Regions from separate parts of the Homo sapiens genome. Here all the other regions are linked to region 3. Evidence: promoter capture Hi-C in human tissues and cell types (Jung and others, 2019). All regions are on one chromosome and are shown on one strand. The core of a region is centred on a gene start or on the middle of the fragment in contact, and the rest is flanking DNA. Distances in the headings are between cores, read along the strand shown.

Region 1 (2,815 bases), core at 252-2,751, 640 kb before region 3:
ACAAATTTTACATATTAAATATTCAGAGTTCCCTGGATTTCCTGTTTATTGGGCTCCCAGTTGCCGGCATCTGGGGCTACAACTTTCCACTGGATGAGTCTTATTTGGGGATCTAACAAAGTTGAGAGAAAAGAGTTAAAAAATGCTGATAACAGGGGTTACCAACAAAATGACTAGTTTGATTAAACAGTGACGGACACAGGCGACAAGTCCCCCCACTGAACCAACACAGAGATTCCAGTCGGCTTCAAGGGTATTCGTGTTCTCTTGTGTGTGTGAATGAAAAGACAAAAAGATGAAAAATGGGGGAGATAGGGAGATAGGAAAATTACACAGTAAGTGGAAGAGGTCCAACATCTAAATAATAGTGATTCCAAAAAGAAAGACCAGAGAAAACAGAAGGAAGAGCTAATTCAAGACAATTTCCCAGAACTGAAAACTGAAAGGGAATACAAAAAGCCCACACAATGGATGAAAATAAACCCACACGAATTTCACTTTGAAGTTTCAGATTCCTAAGGAAAAGAGAAGATCCTGAAAGCCCCGGAGGGAAAGGCTGGGGAAAAGCTATTATACAAAGATCCAGCTTGTAAAGGATTTCCCAGTTCTGGAGGCTAGAACTCAGTGGAACAATGCCTTCAATGGTCTGAGAGATAAATGGCTTCTCACCTAGAATTCTAAACCCAGATGAACCACCAATCTTGTGTTAAAGAAAAATGGAACCATCTTCAGACACGGAAACCCACGTGTGCAGGACTTTTTCTTCCCATATGATCAAACTCATTGGTCCCTGAATAATCTTTGTACATTTTCCTTTCTCATGTGGTTCCCTCAACCCCACCTCAAATGATGATACCTCCATCTTGAAAGGGTCCTCAGTCAGGTAACAGGAACATTAGCTTCCAGTAGGGTAGCAATTTTATTCATCTTTGCCAATTCCACTAAACCTTGCAGAATGTGCAATGCATGACATTATTGGGTAAAAGTCATTGAAATTCATTGCCAGGAGAGAACAGGCAAGTCTGGAGTGACTGAAAAGCTTACCACATAAATGGGATCTGAATTAAATTTGAAGTCTCTCAAAAATTACTTGTCATATGGCAAAAACATGGAATCATCCCAGGTGTCCATCAATGGTGGATTAGATAAAGAAAATGTGGTACATATACACCACGGAATACTATGCAGCCATAAACAAGAATGAAATCATGTCCTTTGCAGCAACATGGATGCAGCTGGAGGCCATTGTCCTAAGCAAATTAACGCAGGAACAGAAAACCAAATACTGCCTGTTCTCATTTATAAGTGGGAGCTAAACATTGGGTACTCATAAACATAAAGATGGGAACAACAGACACTAAGGACTACTAGATGGGCAGGTGGGGAGGGGTTAAAAAATTAACTGTTGGGTACTGTGTTCAGTACCTGGGTGACAGGATCACTCATACTCCAAACCTCAGCATCCCACAATATACCCGGGTAACAAACCTGCACATGGACCCCCCTGAACATAAAAGTTTAAAATAAAATGAAAATCAAATTAAATTTGAAAGACAAAACATTACTTGTTGTGACCTAAAACTACTGAATTTACAAAAATCAAAATATAAGTATTCATAAAATCAAAAAAGTTTTCAATTCTATTAAGAAAATAACAAGCAATGACATAGAAACAATATAACTTTAAAATAAACAATTAGACATTTGTAAGTACTCTGTTCTATAAATTTAGACAGATTGGTTCAAGCAAATGTAAAGTTTTTAAACCAGAATGCCAACAAATGCATAGTTACTTCCCAACTAGTGAACAAGTCAGGTTATAAACTTAATTGAATTGTAATTATGGCAGTATTAGGCTAATAGTTATCCATAGGTACCAAATCAAATACTGCTTTATAGAAGTGGGGCATATAAATATATATTCACATAGATATATAGAGATGGTAAAATTTTAAATTCATTTTAAGAAAAACAGGAAGAACGAGTTTCCTTTGCTTTTCTTTGAAGGAGAGGGAATATAGAAGAAAATTGGGAGGAACAAAAAATTACTAATCATCAGTGTCTAATTCAAGTTAAAAGGCTAAAAACACAGCTCCTAACTCCAACATGTAATTTCTTCTACCAATAGGTATTAAGCACTCATTAAAAGTAGTCAACATTTGGCTGGGTGCAGTGGCTCATGCCTATAATCCCAGCACTTGGAGAGGCTGAGGCAGGGGGATCACTTGAGTTCAGGTGTTCAAGACCAGCCTGGCCAACATGGTGAAATCCCATCTCTACAAAAAATAAAAAAATTAGCCAGGCATGGTGGCAGGTGCCTGTAATCCCAGTTACTCAGGAGGCTGAGGCAGGAGAATCACTTGAACCTGGGAGGCAGAGGCTGCAGTGAGCCAAGATCGCACCACTGCACTCCAGCCTGGGCAACAGAGGGAGACTCTGTCTCAAAAAAAAAAAAAAAAAAAAAAAAGGAGTCAACATTTATTGAGCGGCTGCTATATCTAGGAAAGTATTACAGTAGTATCTCCCACAGTCAAAATGGAAAAAATTATAAAGCAGGAAAGCGTCTCAGGAGGACCCACCGCTCCTTCCATGGCCCCTTCATATCCTGCTGCCCAATTTTTCCTTTCCTTCCCAGGTTAACACAAGTTTTTTGCCTTATTTCAAGGGTTTCTATAGTTAGGGAACTAGCTGACACATATCCCACTACCCATTTGTTTTCTGCTACCTTTCTACAGGTTTTCTTTTCAAACACAATTGCTAAAAATCTGGCAGGAAATAAGTGAGTGGTAGCAATGATACATATGTATCCTGTGAG
Region 2 (2,798 bases), core at 277-2,776, 510 kb before region 3:
AGCTGTTCCCCCCGGAGGGCAACCCCAGCAGCAAAGGCTGTGGGATGTGCCACAGGAGGCAGGAGCAGGGCAGCAAAAAGAGGGCCAGCAAGAACTGGGTGGTCCACTCAGGAAACTGCGCAGAGAAGGGTCTCTGACAAACTTGGGCCTACAGCCCTTGTGGAGCTCACATTTGCACAGTGGCCACACAGAGAGTAGTGAGGACTATAATGTAGCTGTTAGGTTGGTGCAAAAGTAATTGCAGTTTTGTCATTACTTTCAATAAATAGCAAAAACCTCAATTACATTTGTACCAATCTAATAGAAATTGTGACAAGTAACTGGGAAGGGAAAGAATCATATTGTGCCCAGATAAATAAGGAGACTTTTGTTCTTTGCCCCAAACATCCTCTCTGTACCCAGCAAGGAGGCTCTGGGGCAAAAGCTCTCAGGTGGAATAGTACCAGGGGCTAGGGTGAAGTTGGGAAATCTGGTGGTGGGGGGTCTCACAATGACAGGGTGCCATTCCTAGCATTTAATGGTCAGGCACCAGGGATAATAGACAACCTTCAGTGCCTAAGTGAACCCTCATTATAAAACTTGACCAACGCAGTTATTCAGTGTTCTTGTGCACAGTCATGTGAGGGAGAAACCTGCACCTATGTTTTAAATAGAAATATATTTTTATTTTATTTATTTTATAATTTCATTTTAATGTCTATCTGTGTATAAATATTAAATATACATACAAAAATTGTTTGCAATGTTCTAATATGCACTGAATTTTATTCTGCAGTGGTTATGGGTTGTGATTTTCCAGCAACCCTCAACTTTTAGCTAGGGAGTATGAAACACATCATGGCATTTCTGCTGTATTTTTGGGATTTCACTGGATTTGTGAAAGGGTCTTAATAAGTCGTGTAGATTTTGAACAGGCAGGTATAGTTGAGTCTCTATTTTGGGTCACAGATCATATTTTCTTCCTGCTCTAACAGTGCATACTAAGGAGAAGGAAAGGGAGTCGTTGTTTGTGAGGAACGTGAAATATGTTGAAGATGATGCCGGGCAGCTAGCTTGGAATCCTTATGATTGCTAGTTGTCTGAGCTACATGTCGTTATCCACATTTTATTGGCATTAAAACAATAAAACTAAGGAAACAAAGGCTTTCACTAACATCAAGCTAACCTTGCTGGATTATACTTCTTTTCTTACTCCTGCTTTTCCACTCACATTTTAAACTTCAAATGTTTTTGTTTTCTTTTTACGTAAAGTCACCACTTTTTCTCAAAATGGCATCCCTTGTCTTTTGTGGTTACCGATATCTCTAAAATCTGGTTTCCTTTGTCACAATCTTACGTTAGCTTTGGATGTCTTTCTCTTTTGATTTTCACGTGTAATTAGCCACTTGATAATTATTCCAAAATGGCTCTTGAATTTAACCTTCTCTTCACAACAATCAAGTCCCTAGTTACTTTACATGTAAATATGGGGAAGTTATTTATGTCCTGTAAGCCTAGGTGTTCCCATTTGTAAAACAGAAATAACTGCTCTGATACTTAGTAATCACTCAACAAAGGGTACCCAGGAGGCCATTATGGAGAACAGAATTTACAACTAGTATGAAACTTTTTTCCCAATCCCCTCCTTTGCAGCCACTGAAGAAGGGGTTCTATTCTGACATCAGCTGGTATAGTGCATTCCAATTCTGGCACTAACAATCTGGAGTTAGTACAGACCCCACCAGTTAAAGGGCATTGGTCCAAAGCAAAACAGCCCTCACTTCAGACTGTTTACAAATCCAGAGGGGGATGGGTCTCACAATAATTCACTAAAATGTCTCACATAACTCAGGAAAGTGCTATATTTACAATAACAGCTTTATTATAAAGGGTACTAGGCAGGAACAGCCAAATGTAGAGACGCATAGGGTGACATCTTGGAGGGTTCCAAATGTAGAGATTCTACACTCTCTGCCACTCTGCATTCTGGTGTGTTGAGGTGTTCATCAACCAGGAAGTTCCACTGAGCTTTGGCATCCAGAGTTTTTTGGGGTTTTGGCCACATGAGTGAGATCCATTTCCAATCCCCCTCCACTTCCTGACGGTCAGGAGGCTGGGCTGCTATCATATGGTTCAAAGCCTCAACTCTTTAATCACATAGTTGATCTTTCTGGAATGATCAGCATCCATCCTGAAGCTATCTAGGTTCCACCATGAATCACCTCATTAGCACAAACTGAAGAGTGTTCGCAAAGGCTCATGAATAATAAAGAGACTCCTATTTGTGCCAGGAACCCAGGACAAAGACCAGACAAATTATTGATTATATGACAGGCTTCAAACAGAGTTTGAAAACCACTGACCAATAGGGCAAACTCAAACTTCTAAATATAAAACAGACTAAATAGGTCCCAAGTTCCATAGGAAACTGTCTTATTTACTATGGTTTCCCAGTGAATAGTGCAGTACAGGGCATATAGCAGGCACTCAATAATATCGTATGGAACAATTTCCTTAAATTCAATCATATGTTGTCTAGGACCCTTTTCCTAGTTACTGTGAGCACCAATACATGTTTTCCCTTCCCTATATCTAATCTAGGCTCCTGGAGGCCTCTGTATATTCTGACTAAAGATTTGGTAAATGCTCGTAAACAAAGTAATCCTTCTTTATGAATAATCACAATGCATGATGCCCAAAGAATGATTTACTTAACATGTTTCAGTAGTTTGAAAGAAAACAGATATCACACACAATTTGGTCATAACACAAATAGTTCACAATGACGAATTTAGAAAATCATTTACCATTAAATTTTA
Region 3 (2,700 bases), core at 192-2,691:
GGAGCAACAAGTCTGAGAGCTAAGGGCCAGAAGACAATGCAAGCAGTTATTTCATAAATCCCAAGAACAGCAGTTTGGGCTTATGAAACCTTTCCTGGTTTCATGAATATTTCCGTTCTGCGCCCTCCCATGTCCCCACTGTGCCCCCTCATTCCACTGGCACTTGTTCCACATCTGCAAAGTTACAGCTGAGAGGGGAGAGGCACGGAAAGGAGAAGAGGAGGGAAACTGCGGAAAGGCCTGGTGCAGGTCCAGGGAGTCCTGTCTGGCTGAGTCGGGACAAGCTGCTTAAACTCGCCTGCCTGGTGACACACCCGTGGGCGGCAAGTGAACCAACCTGCCCTCCAGCGACCTTTCCCGTGATTATCGTCAGGGGCCCCGCCACCACTCGGCCTACTGCGTTGAGCTTCAGGAAACCATTCCTCAGTTTACTGATAAGAAAACTGAGGCCGCAGCCTTCGCGGGGCAGGTCCTGGGAGCTGGGAGATCCCGGCGCCATCCTAGCGGGGGCCGCACTTACTCTCCGAGTCGCTGAAGCCGCTGCTGTCGCTGACACTGGCGCTGCTGCGCCGCTTCATGCGCTCCAGGTGCTCCTCGTAGTGGAAGTGGCGCTCGTGGAAGGGCGACGCGAAGTCGGCCAGCACCGCGTCAAACTCGCACAGCGCGTCCGACAGGTCCTCCGCGGCCGCCGAGTCCAGGGCCGGGGCTGCGGGCAGGGCCAGGGGCTCAGTGCACGGAAGTCAGGGGGGCAGCGGGACCACCTCCCAGGGCCAGGAGGGGCCGCCACGGTTCCCGAAGATAACTGACACTTGGCGCCTCTGCCAAGTGACAGCCACGCAGTCGCTGTTACCTTGTAATCTTCTCCACCACCCCCGAAGTGCGTTCTATTACCAAGTCCGTTTTACAGACAAGAAAACTGAGCCTTCGCCAGGCCCAGGGTCACCCAGCGACTTGGCGCGGCCAGATTCCTCCCCAGGCGCTGCCGGTTACCTGTCCCCGCCGCTCCCCCCAACCCCGGGCGCGCGCGGAGCTGGTGGTGGAGGGAAGGTGGGACATGGGGGCCAGCCCGGGCCGGAAAGGAGGCTGCAGCCGCCCGCGCGGGAAGACCGGGGACAGGTTCCCGCCGGGGAGGATGGAAGGGTGGGGGGTGTGAAGGGACGACACGGGGCCCCTCCTTTCTCACCCGCCATCTGCAGAGCCGAGACTTTAAGGGGACCCCGGACCCCGCACTCACCTGCGGCCGCGGCGGCCGCGGGGCTGCCCTGCGCCGCGGGCGGCTTCATGAGGCGGCTCAGCTGGGCCCGGCGCGCGTGGCCTTGGGTCCTGCGAGGTGGCAGCCGGGGCTATTCGGGGGCTTGCTGTCCCGCACACTTCAGCCCTGCCAGTCCCTTCGGCGCTGCGCTCCAGCCGCGCCGCTCCCAGCACGGTCCGCGCCCGCCCTACCACCGGCTCGGGTTCCTAGATCTTATAGCCTTCGGCGGCCGGAGCGGAGGCGGGGCCGGGGCGGGGCTGCGGAGCCGGGGCGACGGGTCTGTCCCCGCCGCCCTCCGAGGAGGCCCCTGCCCCCAGGCACCGCCCTCGCCACGCGCCCGCCCTGGAACCGCGGTGACGAGGAGTCGCCGAAGCCCCGGTTACAGCCCCAAATATTTACCCGCCTCTCGCCCCCGCGCCCTGACAACCCGGCCCACGCGGTGTCCTCGGCGTCACCAGAGCTGACTGCTGGGCGCGAGCTCTGCTGCTTCCCGCCGCGTGCCAGGCACCTCCGCGAGCCGCAGCTTCCTCGGCTGTGAAGTGGACGTGGGCATGCAGAGCCTCCCTGGCTGGCGGTGAGGGACGAAGGAGCCCGCGGCCGTGTCCCAGTCGGGTGTCGGGGACGCGGAGGTCCCCTACGCATTGTCCCAAGGGGACTTCCGAGATGGTGGGCGGGCGGAGTGGAGAGGGTCGGGGCGAGAGGGGCAGGAGTTGGGGGAGTCCTGAACTGTTCCCACCGCGGAGCGCGGGGGCCTGAACTACGGTCCAGGGCGCTCCCGCCAGCCTGACTTTATCTAGAAGGGGTTTATTATGGGAAGAAACTACTGCGTCGACGCAGCGCGAACAGGGCGCCTTGCAGTGTCCACGGAGTAACGAGCCACCCTGCCCCGCGGCCTGCGGGGGCGAACGCCCTGGACTGTGCGCTGAGCTAGGCGCTAGCCTCTCGCCTCTCACCACAGACGGCTAATTAAATGTAGAGCAATTAACATGTAACGGAGTGAAACATTCAGCCTCCACTCCCAGCTAGTTTTTGTATTTTTAGCAGAGACGGGGTTTGTCCATGTTGGCCAGGCTGGTCTCGAACTCCCGACCTCAGGTGATCTGCCCACCTCAGCCTCCCAAAGTGCTGGGATTACAGGCGTGAGCCACCGCACCCAGCCAGGATTTGTTTTCAGAATATAGAAAGACCCATCTACAAAGTAATCACAAATAGACAACCTGGTAAAAATTAAAAATGAGCAAAACATTGAAACATACACCTCACAAAGGAGTATATGTTAATGACCACTAATCATATGAATAGTCCTCCTCTCTTGTCTACTCTGGGTGGCCTAGGGATATGCTTGTCTTGTGGAGGCACAAGCACTGTGGGCTCAAGAGTGGGGAGCCTCTTTCCCTGTTAAGGGGAGGACACCACTGGGATCTCTGGTGCCATCTCCTGCAATGGAT
Region 4 (2,700 bases), core at 144-2,643, 610 kb before region 3:
GCTGCTCAGGACCAGTCCAACACTGAATGTATCTGCACTGTGAGGAGAATGTTCATAGAAGCCTGTTGTGTGCATATTTATTCACATTTTTGTTAAATGTTAAATCGTTTAGCAGAGTAATCTGAGTGCATAGTATGTCATTTCATTCTGTTTGAGTTTCTTGAGTGTCTTCTTTAAATGTCTGCAGAGTTGCTGCCCCTTTCTTGAACTATGAGTACTGCAATCTTTTAAATTCTCAACATGAGTAGAGCTTTTTGAGCTTTAAACCTACGGGGAAATCAACAGGCCTGTTTGGCAGAAGCAATGAACATCAAGAAACCATCTTGCTGTGGAAGCATAATTATTTTTCTTATCCCTTTTTGAAAGATCTTTCCTTTTGATGCCAGTTTTCTTCCTTGTTTACACAAGTTCAACAATTCCAAAGGAAAAGGCAATCATAAGGGTTTCAAAGTGGCAGAGAAATTTGAAAGTCTCATGAACATTCATGGTTTTGATCTGGATTCTACGTATATGGACTTAAAACCACTGGGTTGTGGAGGCAATTACTTGTTTTTTTCTGCTGTAGACAATGATTGTGACAAAAGAGTAGCCATCAAGAAAATTGTCCTTACCAATCCCCAGAGTGTCAAACATGCTCTATGTGAAATCAAGATTATTAGAAGACTTGACCATGATAACATTGTGAAAGTGTTTGAAATTCCTGGTCCCAGTGGGAGCCAATTAACAGATGATGTGGGCTCTCTTACGGAACTAAACAGTGTTTACATTGTTCAGGAGTACATGAAGACAGACTTGTCTAAAGTGCTGGAGCAGGGCCCTTTACTGGAAGAGCATGCCAGGCTTTTCATGTATCAGCTGCTACGGGGGCTCAAGTATATTCACTCTGCAAATGTACTGCACAGAGATCTCAAACCAACTAATCTTTTCATTAATACTGAAGACTTGGTGCTGAAGATAGGCGACTTTGGTCTTGCACGGATCATGGATCCTCATTATTCCCGTAAGAGTCATCTTTTGAAGGATTGGTTACTAAATGGTACAGATCTCCATGTCTTTTACTTTCTCCTAATAATTATACTAAAGCCATTGACATGTGGGCTGCAGGCTGCATCTCTGCTGAAATGCTGACTGTTTTGTAAAACCCTTTTTGCAGGTGCACATGAACTTGAACAGATGCAGCTGACTTTAGAATCTATTCCTGTTGCACATGAGGAAGATCGTCAGGAGCTTCTCAGCGTAATTCCAGTTTACATTAGAAATCACATGACTGAGCCACACAAACCTTTAACTCAGCTACTTCCAGGAATTAGTCGCGAAGCACTGAATTTCCTGGAACAAATTTTGACATTTAGCCCCATGGATTGGTTAATAGCAGAAGAAGCGCTCTCCCATCCTTACATGAGCATATGTTCTTTTCCAATGGATAAGCCAATTTCAAGCCATCCTTTTCATATTGAAGATGAAGCTCATAATATTTTGCTTATGGATGAAACTCACAGTCACATTTATAACTGGGAAAGGTACTATGACTGTCAGTTTTCAGAGCATGATTGGCCTATACATAACAACTTTGATATTGATGAAGTTCAGCTTAATCCAAGAGCTCTGTCTGATGTCACTGATGAAGAAGTACAAGTCGATCCCTGAAATTATTTGGATGGAGATCGGGAAAGGTATCTGGGGGATCCTGCTTTCCATACCAATTACTCTGCTGAGCCTTGTTGGCAGTACCCAGATCATCATGAAAACAAATATTGTGATCTGGAGTGTAGCCATACTTGTAATTACAAAACGAGGTCATGATCATATTTAGATAACTTAGTTTGGAGAGAGAATGAAGTTAACTGTTACTATGAACCCAAGCTTATTACAGATCTTTCCAATTGGAAAGAACAAAGCAAAGAAAAATCTGATAAGAAAAGAAAATCAAAATGTGAAAGGAATGGATTGGTTAAAGCCCAGATAGCGCTAGAGGAAGCATCACGGCAACTGGCTGGAAAAGAAAGGGAAAAGAATCAGGGATTTGATTTTCATTCCTTTATTGCAGGAACTATTCAATTTAGTTTCCAACATGAGTCTACTGATGTTGTTGATAAATTAAATCGACTTGAATAGCTCAGTGTCCCAACTAGAATTGAAAAGTTTGATATCAAAGTCAGTAAGTCAAGAAAAACAGGAAAAAGGAATGGCAAATCTGGCTCAATTAGAAACTTTGTACCCATCTTCTTGGGACAGCCAGTTTGTGAGTGATGGGGAGAACTGTTTTCTCATAAATCAGTTTTGTGAAGTAAGAAAGGATGAACAAGTTAAGAAGGAAAACACACTAGTTACTTAGACAAGTTCTTCAGCAGGAAAGAAGATCCTGAAATGCTAGAAACTGAGCCAGTAGAGGATGGGAAGCTTGGGGAGAGAGAAATGAGGAAGGATTTCTGAACAACAGTGAGGAGTTCCTCTTTAATAAGCAGCTCGAGCCCAATAGGCATCCCGCAGTTTCACAGTCCAGTTGGGTCACCACTTAAGTCAATACAGGCCACATTAACAGCTTCTGCTATGAAATCTTCCCCTCAAATTCCTCATCAAACATACAGCGGCATTCTGAACATCTGAACTAAAACACTCAGCAGACATTTATCTTTGTATTCTTATGAAATGTATTTTGTCTTTTTTATTACTAGAGTTTAAGTCATTTTTTACTTGAAT

Evidence for each region. Contacts are between HindIII fragments. The study calls those that stand out against the background at their distance.
Region 1: a contact is called between a fragment that was not itself captured here and the fragment with the promoter of RGCC in region 3, in 1 of the 25 tissues and cell types used here (H1 embryonic stem cells).
Region 2: a contact is called between a fragment that was not itself captured here and the fragment with the promoter of RGCC in region 3, in 1 of the 25 tissues and cell types used here (dorsolateral prefrontal cortex).
Region 4: a contact is called between a fragment that was not itself captured here and the fragment with the promoter of RGCC in region 3, in 2 of the 25 tissues and cell types used here (dorsolateral prefrontal cortex and lymphoblastoid cells).

Annotation. Positions count from the first base shown.
Region 1 is chr13:42,094,809-42,097,623 of GRCh38, reverse strand. All of the region lies in intron 1 of DGKH (diacylglycerol kinase eta), which reads right to left. Among named protein-coding and RNA genes, the nearest start is that of DGKH, 48 kb to the right of the region's middle. RefSeq lists a silencer at 2,557-2,815. The HindIII fragment of the contact is 4,432 bases long and covers 1-2,815 here.
Region 2 is chr13:41,970,541-41,973,338 of GRCh38, reverse strand. The region is part of intron 2 of VWA8-AS1 (VWA8 antisense RNA 1); the gene reads right to left. Among named protein-coding and RNA genes, the nearest start is that of VWA8-AS1, 11 kb to the right of the region's middle. The HindIII fragment of the contact is 7,046 bases long and covers 1-2,798 here.
Region 3 is chr13:41,456,291-41,458,990 of GRCh38, reverse strand. RGCC (regulator of cell cycle) reads right to left here and starts at 1,441. Exons shown (of 5, transcript NM_014059.3): 1 at 1,235-1,441; 2 at 521-706. The coding sequence starts at 1,283. RefSeq lists enhancers at 399-528, 578-1,255 and a silencer at 829-1,668. The HindIII fragment of the contact is 31,337 bases long and covers 1-2,700 here.
Region 4 is chr13:42,068,844-42,071,543 of GRCh38, reverse strand. The region is part of intron 1 of DGKH (diacylglycerol kinase eta); the gene reads right to left. It also overlaps the pseudogene MAPK6P3. Among named protein-coding and RNA genes, the nearest start is that of DGKH, 22 kb to the right of the region's middle. The HindIII fragment of the contact is 5,329 bases long and covers 1-2,700 here.